Regions from separate parts of the Homo sapiens genome. Here region 2 is linked to region 1. The links are contacts of gene promoters, found by promoter capture Hi-C in human tissues and cell types (Jung and others, 2019). All regions are on one chromosome and are shown on one strand. Each heading gives the region's core, a stretch centred on a gene start or on the middle of the fragment in contact. The rest is flanking DNA. Distances are from core to core; before and after follow the strand shown.

Region 1 (4,465 bases), core at 1-2,500:
GTCCATTAAGGTTATCTCTGCGGAAACGCACAGGTGAACCTTAGCAGTCCCGCTTAGCTCATCACCCACAATGTTTTGGTTCTTCTCACCCCAGCAAGACCCAGGGACCGGTGTCACTGATAAAGGAGCCAAGCCTCACTGTCCCCGCGCACCAGGACGGCCAGAGAGCCGTGTACTCACAGAACTGTCTCCCTTCTTGGGGGCCGAGGGCTTCCTGGGGAAGAGGATGAGTTTGGAGCGGTACTCCTTCAGCCGCTGCACGTTGGCCTGCAGGGACTCCGTGGACTTGTTCCGCCTCCTCGGATCCACAGAAATGCCGATGGTCCGGGCCACCTTCTTGTGAATGCCGGCCACCTGCCCCAGAACCAGAGAGAGATGGAGACAGGCCCGGGCTTTCTCCAGCCCCGAGGCCTGGATGAAAAGCCTCAGCAATCAGATGGAAAAGGGTTCAAATGTGCTTTCATCAAGGCCGTACAGCGATTCCGGAGAATGTCATCACGCGACTGAGGCCAACAGAGGGGACTTCGGGGCCTTCCTGACACCGCAGCGCTGCCAGTACTCACCCTGAGCTCCTCCAGGCTGAAGCCGCGGCCGGCGCGCACCTTCGTGTGGTACCGAACCGTGGGGCAGCGCACGATGGGCCGGATGGGACCCGACGCGGGGCGCGGGGCGATGCGGCGCGCCTTGGCTTGCCGGGCCTTACGTCTGGTGGAGAGAAGCGCAGCGGCGGTCACCCTTGCCTAAGGCCGCCAGGCCAGCGCTCCGCGACGGTTGCAGACAGCGCCCCCCGCCCTGGCATCGGCCACCCGCAAGCCAAGGCGCAGCCGCGGGCACGAGCCCCAGGGGCAGCCCCGAGCGCAGGGCTCACCTGCGGATCTTACGGGCCGGCTGGTTGAACCACGTGGCCACGCGCCGCTGCCAGTCCTTGTGGAAGTGGGGCTTCAAGACCATGCCATTCCGGCTGGGCGCCATGGCTGCCTACGGCCCTGCGGCTGCGGACGAGAGGGGAGCGAGTGAGAGGCCGGACCCCGGGCGCGCGCACCCCCCCGGGCCTCCGCCCCGAACCCTCCAGACTGGGCCGTCCGGCCGCGCCTAGAGCCCGGGCAGCGGCCGAACGCTGTCTGCGAAGAAGAAGGGGCCCATCCACTCCCGCGTTGGCTGAAGCGCCAGGCCGATGGCGCTGGATGATGCCCAAAGGCCAGGACCCAGTCTCCCTCACCTCCTGCGCAGGAAAACAGCCGAGCGGAAAGGAAGCGGCCCCGCAATGCACTCTGGGATGATAGCAGGGCCGGCCAACCAGAAGCGCCGGGCGCTCTGACCAATCAGAGCCCCGAAAGGAGGAACTGACGTCGCCGCGGCTCTCCCGGCAGCCCTAGGGCCGCCGTCGCAGACATGTTGCCGCTGAGAATGCGGCGGGGCGGCCGTGATTCCTGGGCCCTGAGTAACCGACGGCCGGACTTGCTTGACGTCCGCCGTTACTGCCCCGGCGCTTCAGCCGCTGCGCGGGCCGCGGCCGAGTCCTGTCTTGCGGGCTAACGCGCGCGAGTCCGGTATCTGGGCCGACGGCGAACGGGCGACGCCCGAGGAATTCTGTTTGTTCACATTTGTGAGACACGTTTGCAGCGCAAAGGCAGAAAAACTTCAGTGACATCCGAGTTTGCGCAACCTAAGGCCTTCGTCCTTGTCGTTCCAGCGTTTATTCTCCTCCCATCCATTTAGAACATTTGTGGTTTTTTTTTTTGTTTTTTTTTTTTGGAGACGGAGTCTCGCTCCGTCGCCCAGGCTGGAGTGCAATGGCGCGATCTCGGCTCACTGCAGCCTCCGCGTCCCAGGTTCAAGCAATTCTGCCTCAGCCTCCCGAGTAGCTGGGATTACAGGCGCCCGCCGCCACACCCTGCTAATTTTTGGTATTTTAGTAGACGGAGTTACTGTTGGCCTCTGTCGCTTTCCCTTGGCCCAGGATTAGGTGACTTCTCTAAGGTCAGGGGTACCCGACTGAAAATGTCACACTCTGACCTGCTGTGCCTACTGCCTTCCTTCACAAAGAAAAGCATCAACAAAAAGCCATCTCTTCTCTAGTATAAGTCTGTGAAGGCACCATCCATCTTACTGCTACCTGGAAACCTTTAAATCCCAATAACCCTCTTTCTTCCCTACCCTCACCCAATCACCACGCTTCCTCCTGGTAAAACTTATTATTATTTTTTTTTTTTGAGACGGAGTCTCCCTCTGTTGCCCAGGCTGGAGTTCAGTGGTGCGATCTCTGTTCACTGCAAGTTCTGCCTCCCGGGTTCACGCCATTCTCCTGCCTCTGCCTCCCAAGTAGCTGGGACTACAGGCGCCCACCATCACGCCCAGCTGATTTTTTGTATTTTTAGTACAGACGGGGTTTCACTGTGTTAGCCAGGATGGTCTCGATCTCCTGACCTCGCGATCCGCCCGCCTGGGCCTCCCAAAGTGCTGGGATTACAGGCGTGAGCCACCGTGCCTGGCCAACGTAATCCACATTTTAAGAATTTCACAGTTCCAGCACTTTGGGAGGCTGAGGTGGGCGGATCAGCCGAGGTCAAGAGTTTGAGATCACCCTGGCTAAGATGGTGAAACCCTGTCTCTACTAAAAATACAAAAAAGCTGGGCGTGGTGGCGCATGCCTGTAATCCTAGCTACTTAGGAGGCTGAGTCACCAGAATTGCTTGAACTGGGGAGGCAGAGGTTGCAGTGAGCCAAGATCACATTACTGCACTCTAGCCTGGGCAACAGAGCAAGACTCAGTCTCAAAAAGAAAAAAAAGTATTTCACAGGCCAGGCACGGTGGCTCATGCCTGTAAATCCCAGCACTTTGGGAGGCCGAGGCGGGTGGATCACCTGAGGTCAGGAGTTGGAGACCGGCCTAGCCAACATGGCAAAATCCCGCCTCTACTAAAAATACAAAAATTAGCCATGTGTGGTTGTGTACACCTGTAATCCTAGCTACTCCAGAGAGTAGGACAGGGGAATCACTTGAACCCAGGAGGCAGAGGTTACAGTGAGTCGAGACTGCACCACTGCACTCCAGCCTGGGTGACAGAGTTAAGCCTCCGTCTCAAAAATGAAAAATTTAAGAGCTGGGCGTGCTGGCTCACACCTGTAATCCCAGCATTTTGGGAGCCCAAGGCAGGCAGATCACGAGGTCAGGAGATCGAGACCATCCTGGCTAACATGGTGAAACCCCGACTCTACTAAAAATACAAAAAATTAGCCGGGCGTGGTGGCAGGCGCCTGTGGTCCCACCTACTTGGGAGGCTGAGGCAGGAGAATGGCGTGAACCCGGGAGGCGGAGGTTGCACTGACCCAAGATCGTGCCACTGCACTCCAGCCTGGACTACAGAGCAAGATTCCATCTCCAAAAACAAATAATAATTAAAAAATAATAAATTAATTTCACAAAAGGCTTGGCACAGTGGCTCACACCTGTAATCCCAACACATTGGGAGGCCAAGGCAGGAGGATCACTTGAACTCAGAAATTCGAGTCTAGCCCTGTCTCTACAAAAAGTACAAAAATTAGTCGGGCATAATGGTGCGTGCCTGCGGTCCCAGCTACTTGGGAGGCTGAGTCAGGAGGATTGCTTGAGCCCAGAAGATCGAGGCTGCAGTGAGCCGAGATGGCGCCACTGCACTCTAGCCTGGGCGACAGAGCAAGACTCTGCCAAAAACCAACACAACAGCAAAAAAAAAACAATTACCGAGGACACTACCCTTGGCTACACCAGCTAAAACCCTCCCATCGATGTGCTGGTCTTTGGATTTGGAGAACTGGGGCAAAGGTCAAGGCATCTCTCAGAGATGCCACCCTCGGGTGTGTGACTGCACCTGTGGCTGCCTCCTTACTGCTCCGCCAGCGTTTCAGTGTTGCAGCAACAAGAGGACAATCCACTCACGTCACTGCACCACAGGGAGGGCAGAAGCAAGGGGGCCGGAGTGGGAGCCGCATGCCCCGGAACTCAGGGCCAGGGTGTCCTGGGTCGTCTTCTATCCCTACGGGGTCCAGGCCCCAGATTCCTACAGAAGGAGTTTTTCACTTAGTCCCTGCATTACTCAAATTATAAACTGAAACCACAAGACCCTGTGATCCAGGGCAAGCCCACCAGCTCCTCTGCATTAGAGCTGGCCAGACAATGCAAATGTAGATTTTCCAACTACACAGTTTATTAGTAAAGTATCTCAACAATTCTCAGAGCAGTAAAAACCAAGGCATCCCCAACACTGCATGCGTGACTAGACCAGCAAGAAGTCCTCAACTTGCACCAGTCCACATGGCAGCAGGGGGCAGTGGTGAGTCCTCCGGAGCCCAGTGCCTGGGCCTGACTGGCCCCATTGATGAGTGAGCTGGATGACAGGGCCGCTGGAGATAGGACAATCGGCTCACAGGGTCCTTTCATGTCCGATCCCCTTAGCATTCCGAGGGAGCCACAGGAACTGGGGCG
Region 2 (4,450 bases), core at 191-2,690, 260 kb after region 1:
TCACTCTTGGGTCCCACACACGTGGAGATGCACCCGGTGCATGTCCAGCCCTGGGCGAGGTATGGGGCTGCTCACCTGTGGGTCTTCTGACAGCTGGACACGGGAGGGAGACAGTGGTTCCCCTCAGGGCCACAAAGGCACAGGAAGAAACTCCATTGCTTGTAGTAAAAACCAAAGGGAGCCCTAAAAGTGAGCAGGAGGCAGGGAGGTCTTCCCAAGCACAGGCGGGGTCTGAGGCTGCAGAGCAGGAATGTGTGTGCTGTGTGCCTGTGCCAGAGTGTGTGCCCAAGTGTGTATGCCTGTGTGTATGTGTGCCCATGTGCACATGCCCGTGTATCTGTGTGCATGCCCTCATGTGTGTGCCTGTATGTATGCCCGTGTGTGTGCCCGTGTGTGTATGTACTTGTATGTACCCATGTATGTGTGTGCCCGTGTATGTGCTTGTGTGTACCCATGTGTGTGCCTGTATGTGTGCCTGTGTATGCGTGCCCGTCTATGCCCGTGTATGTGTGCCCATGTGTGCCTGAGTATGTGTATGCTTTTGTGTGCCTGTGTGTGCCTGTATATATGTGCGCTCATGTGTGTATGCCCATGTGTGCGTTTGCATGTGTGTGCATGTGCATGCCTGTGTATGCGCCCGTGTGTGTGTGCATGCCTGTGTGTGCCCATGTGTACGTGTGTGCCTGTGTGCCCATGTGTGCATGCCTGTGTGCCCGTGTGCAAGCCCATGTGTGTTCATGTGCACACGCTCCTGGTGGGGTCAGCGCCTTCTGCAGTGACACCTTCCCAGTGGATTCTGTCTTGAGCTGCTTGCAGGGAGCCCAGAGGCCTCTGCGCTGGCCGTGCTTGCTCTTTGGTGATTCTTGTGTCCAGAGGCCTCCTTGTCCTCCTGGTCATCCAGCTTCTCTACAGCCCTGCTGGGGAAGGTTGGAGGCAGTAGAGCACTAAGCTGGCCACAAAGCCTGGAGTGAACCGGGAGAGTGCTGAGTCAGGCCCTCGGCTCTGTCCCTGGCTTCCTGAGACTTCTTGAATGCAGCCATAGCACAAGGCGTAGAGGCTGTGCCAGGATGCGGGCTTGAGAGCAGATGGGGGAAGTGGTCCAGGTGAGAAGAGCTCGTGATACGAAGGAGATTGTTGAAGAGGAACGGCAGCAGGCACAGCCAGTAAAGAGGATCCACACCCCAGCTTTTGTCAGCACAGCTCAGCAAGCTTCAGCCTTTATGATTGTGTGGCTGCCGCAGGCCTGTGGCCCCTCCTGTCCTATGTGGGGTGCTCCAGGGATGTGCTCACAGTAGCCAGGTGGAGACTCTGCTGAGTGAAAGGCCAGCAGAGAGGGCTGGTTTTCCCAGATGGGAAGTGAGGGGCAGGTGCAGTGCCAGGCACATGGCTCCTGTCTCTGGGCCAGCACATCTGGGGACAGGAAGGCTGCAGGGACACCAGCACAGGCCCAGGAGGACTCCTCTTCCCAGCAGCGGACAGCTCCGAGGAAGAACACTGGGAGACACGGGGAAGTGAGTGGACAGAATGTGTGGATGGGTTGTGTAAGGGACCTCAGCCCCCAGAAGGGAGGGCCTGGGTGACTCCCTGGAGCTCCCAGCGGTGCTGTGTACTCTCGGGCTTTAGGCCTAGAGAAAGTCAGTCCAGGCCTGAAACCCTGTGTTTGCCGTCTTTGGTCCCCATGCTGGTTTTGGTTGTAGAAGGCCGTCATGTTGATACGTAGCTGTTAGCTCTTTGCACAGTGGCCATGCGGGAGTTGGCCTCAGACCTTTGAGGTGTTTCTGTGATGTCTCTGGAGGTGTTGCTGAAAGGGTTAATGAGACAAGCATCTGCTTCTGCTTCCTGGGAGAATGATCCCACTTGGTAAGGTGGCGTTCCCAGGGCTACCTGGTGCCCACCCCATCTGGCTGCTCAGGTCTCTTTGTGGTGGCCGTTTCATCATGGTGCAGAGAAGCTCTCACCCAGGGCCCTGTTGTGTTGTCAGAAGCTTCCGGGGTCTGTCTGTTGATGGTTAGCGCCTGCGTGGTGCCAGCCGTGCTGGCCCACTGAGGCCATTCTCGCTCTCTGTGGGTCTCTGGGATATTTTCTGCCACAGCCCTGGGTGCTCCTGGAACTGCGTGTTGAACACCATGTCCTTACTCTGTGAGGGGCAGGCCTAGGTGAGGACAGGGTAGGTGAGAATCCCTGTGAGGTGGGAAAACAGTAAAGAACATTTTGAAAATAGAATTTTCCAGGCAAGGATTGTAACAAAAAGACCTAAGAAACGTAGTATTTGTCCTCCTGTGTTTATCACCCTTTCGGGGCCAATTTTAATAACTTCTTGTTTAATGTTGCAAAACTAGATTTCCTAGGAAGATTGTTCTGATGTATGAGTGTGGAGCGTTGCTTATCCTAGAAGCTTGCATTTTAACCAGGACCCTCTTAAAGTAGCAAGTCCACAGCCAGGCGCGGTGGCTCACGGCTGTAATCCCAGTACTTTGGGAGGCCGAGGCGGGCAGATCACAAGGTCAGGAGTTCGAGACCAGCCTGACCAACATGAAGAAACCCTGTCGCTACTAAAAATACAAAAATTAGCCAGGTGTGGCGGCGGGTGCCTGTAATCCCAGCTACTCGGGAGGCTGAGGCAGGAGAATTGCGTGAACCCAATAGGTGGAGGTTGCAGTGAGCCAAGATTGCGCCATTGCACTCCAGCCTGGCAACAGAGCAAGACTCCGTCTCTAAATAAATAAATAGTAGCGAGTCCAACTCCAGTGCGTTCAGCCCCACCCTGGGCCGGGAGGCTGCTGGGCGCTGTGGCTCTCACACACGCCGCGTCCCCTCCTTCCCCCAGAGGAGCCGTTCTTGCTCAGAAATGAGTGGGGTGGAGGGAGAGGCGCACACCAGCAGGGATGAGAAGAGAAACATTGGTGCAGGGTTAACTGACACGTGACAGACAAGAGACTCTTCTCTGGTCCCCAGCAGTCAGGCCTCTCTGGAGGGGTGTGGGTGCCCCTTGCTATGGTGGGAGGGATGCAGGGTCACCACCGTGCCGGATGCCTTGGCTGTGTCCAAGTGGCAGAGGCTGGCACGTCTCCCTCAGAGACCTCCATGTTGCTGTGGGGATGGCTTCCCGCCTCCCAGATGCAGGGTTGAGTCGGCCCTGCCCGCGGTCCAGTGCCATGGAGATGTGGCCTCTGCGGTGCTTAGTCAGGGCTGGGGGCCGCCTGCCAAGAACAATGTGATTCTGTCTGTTGTGAATCAGCCCAGTTTAAAGCAGTCCCCGAGGCTGTGCATCCGCGTGGTCCCTGCACAGCAGCCTGGAGGCTGTCCAGGCAGACGTGAGCATGTGACAGCATCACCTCTGTGTCTTCCAGAGCGCTGGGCAAGAGCCCGTCCTAGGACCAGGCCTCTGTAAGGGCTGTGGGTGCAGCAAGGAGTGGGAAGGCACCTGCCATGTCCCGGCCCCAAGACAGCTCTGCCCACCGAGCCCTCTCAGACCAGCTTGCCCTGGGACTTCTAGCCCATCTTGCCTGCCCTGCTCTGCCTGCCCTGTCTGCCCGGGGCCTCTTGTATCTGCTTTTGAAGTCTGTCCTCTACCACCTCAAGGGTGGTCTCAGTTTAAAAAGCCTTATCACTGAAAGCATTCATATTAAATTATATGATATCTGGGATTTGCTTCAAATGATACTACTTTGTCTACTTTTTTATATGTGTAAGGTTTCCCAAAACTTAAAAAATCTAAAAGTAGCCAGGCACAGTGGCTCACACCCTTCACCCTTCCAGCACTTTGGCGGGAGGATCCCTTGAGGCTAGGAGGTCAAGGCTGCAGTGAGCCGTGATTGCGCCACTGCCCTCCAGCCTGGGCGACAGAGTGAGACCCTGTCCATAAAAAATAAAATAGATAAATAAATAATCAGTCAACCAGCGAATGTTTTTGAGGTTGCTGTGCATCATTGCCTGGCCTCCCTGGGGTTCTGGGGAGCCTCCTGCCCCGCTGTTTCTCCTGCGCCTTCGTCTGTGACCCTGAGTCTCGCTTCTCCCTGCCTAGGACCGCCGGGGTCCTGCTTGTCCTGGGGCAGCCACGAGGGAGCCCTCGTCAGGAGCGCCATGGGCCGAAGCTGCCTGCCCTCTGCACGTGGATGTTTCTTTGGAACAAGGGGAAAAATTATGATTTTCTTATTTTGCTTTGACCTGTGAATGACACCCTGGTCTCTGGTGCCTGGGGTGTGCTCTCTGCAGTGCTGCCAGGCACATGCTGGTTCCTTCAGCGTTAGGTGCTTGGCACCTTCAGTCTTTTCCTGACGTCATGTTTGTTCCTGGTGCCTCAGATAGGAGACGGCTGTTCTGACGGCTCCTGCTTCCCCATTCCTGGAGGGAAGACAGACTTAGCCACTGGTATCTGTGGGACTTCTTGGAACTCTGAATGCCAGACCTTGCCCAGTGCTAGAGGCGACAAGTGTGTGAAGTTGAAGAG

Evidence for each region. The method cuts DNA at HindIII sites, captures the fragments that hold promoters and counts their contacts. A contact is called where the count stands out against the background at its distance.
Region 2: a contact is called between a fragment that was not itself captured here and the fragment with the promoter of RPL13 in region 1, in 17 of the 25 tissues and cell types used here (H1 embryonic stem cells, IMR-90 fibroblasts, adrenal gland and 14 more).

Annotation. Positions count from the first base shown.
Region 1 is chr16:89,557,467-89,561,931 of GRCh38, reverse strand. RPL13 (ribosomal protein L13) reads right to left here and starts at 1,250. Exons shown (of 6, transcript NM_000977.4): 1 at 1,220-1,250; 2 at 869-992; 3 at 564-705; 4 at 181-354. The coding sequence starts at 972. It overlaps SNORD68 (small nucleolar RNA, C/D box 68), which reads right to left and starts at 502; the gene lies at 431-502. SPG7 (SPG7 matrix AAA peptidase subunit, paraplegin) reads right to left here. Exons shown (of 17, transcript NM_003119.4): 17 at 4,166-4,465. RefSeq lists silencers at 668-717, 778-1,047, 2,589-2,808 and an enhancer at 1,158-1,267. The HindIII fragment of the contact is 11,945 bases long and covers 1-4,465 here.
Region 2 is chr16:89,300,537-89,304,986 of GRCh38, reverse strand. All of the region lies in intron 4 of ANKRD11 (ankyrin repeat domain containing 11), which reads left to right. LOC124903757 (keratin-associated protein 5-2-like) reads right to left here. Exons shown (of 2, transcript XM_047435030.1): 2 at 4,000-4,450. Among named protein-coding and RNA genes, the nearest start is that of ZNF778, 85 kb to the right of the region's middle. The HindIII fragment of the contact is 5,718 bases long and covers 1-4,299 here.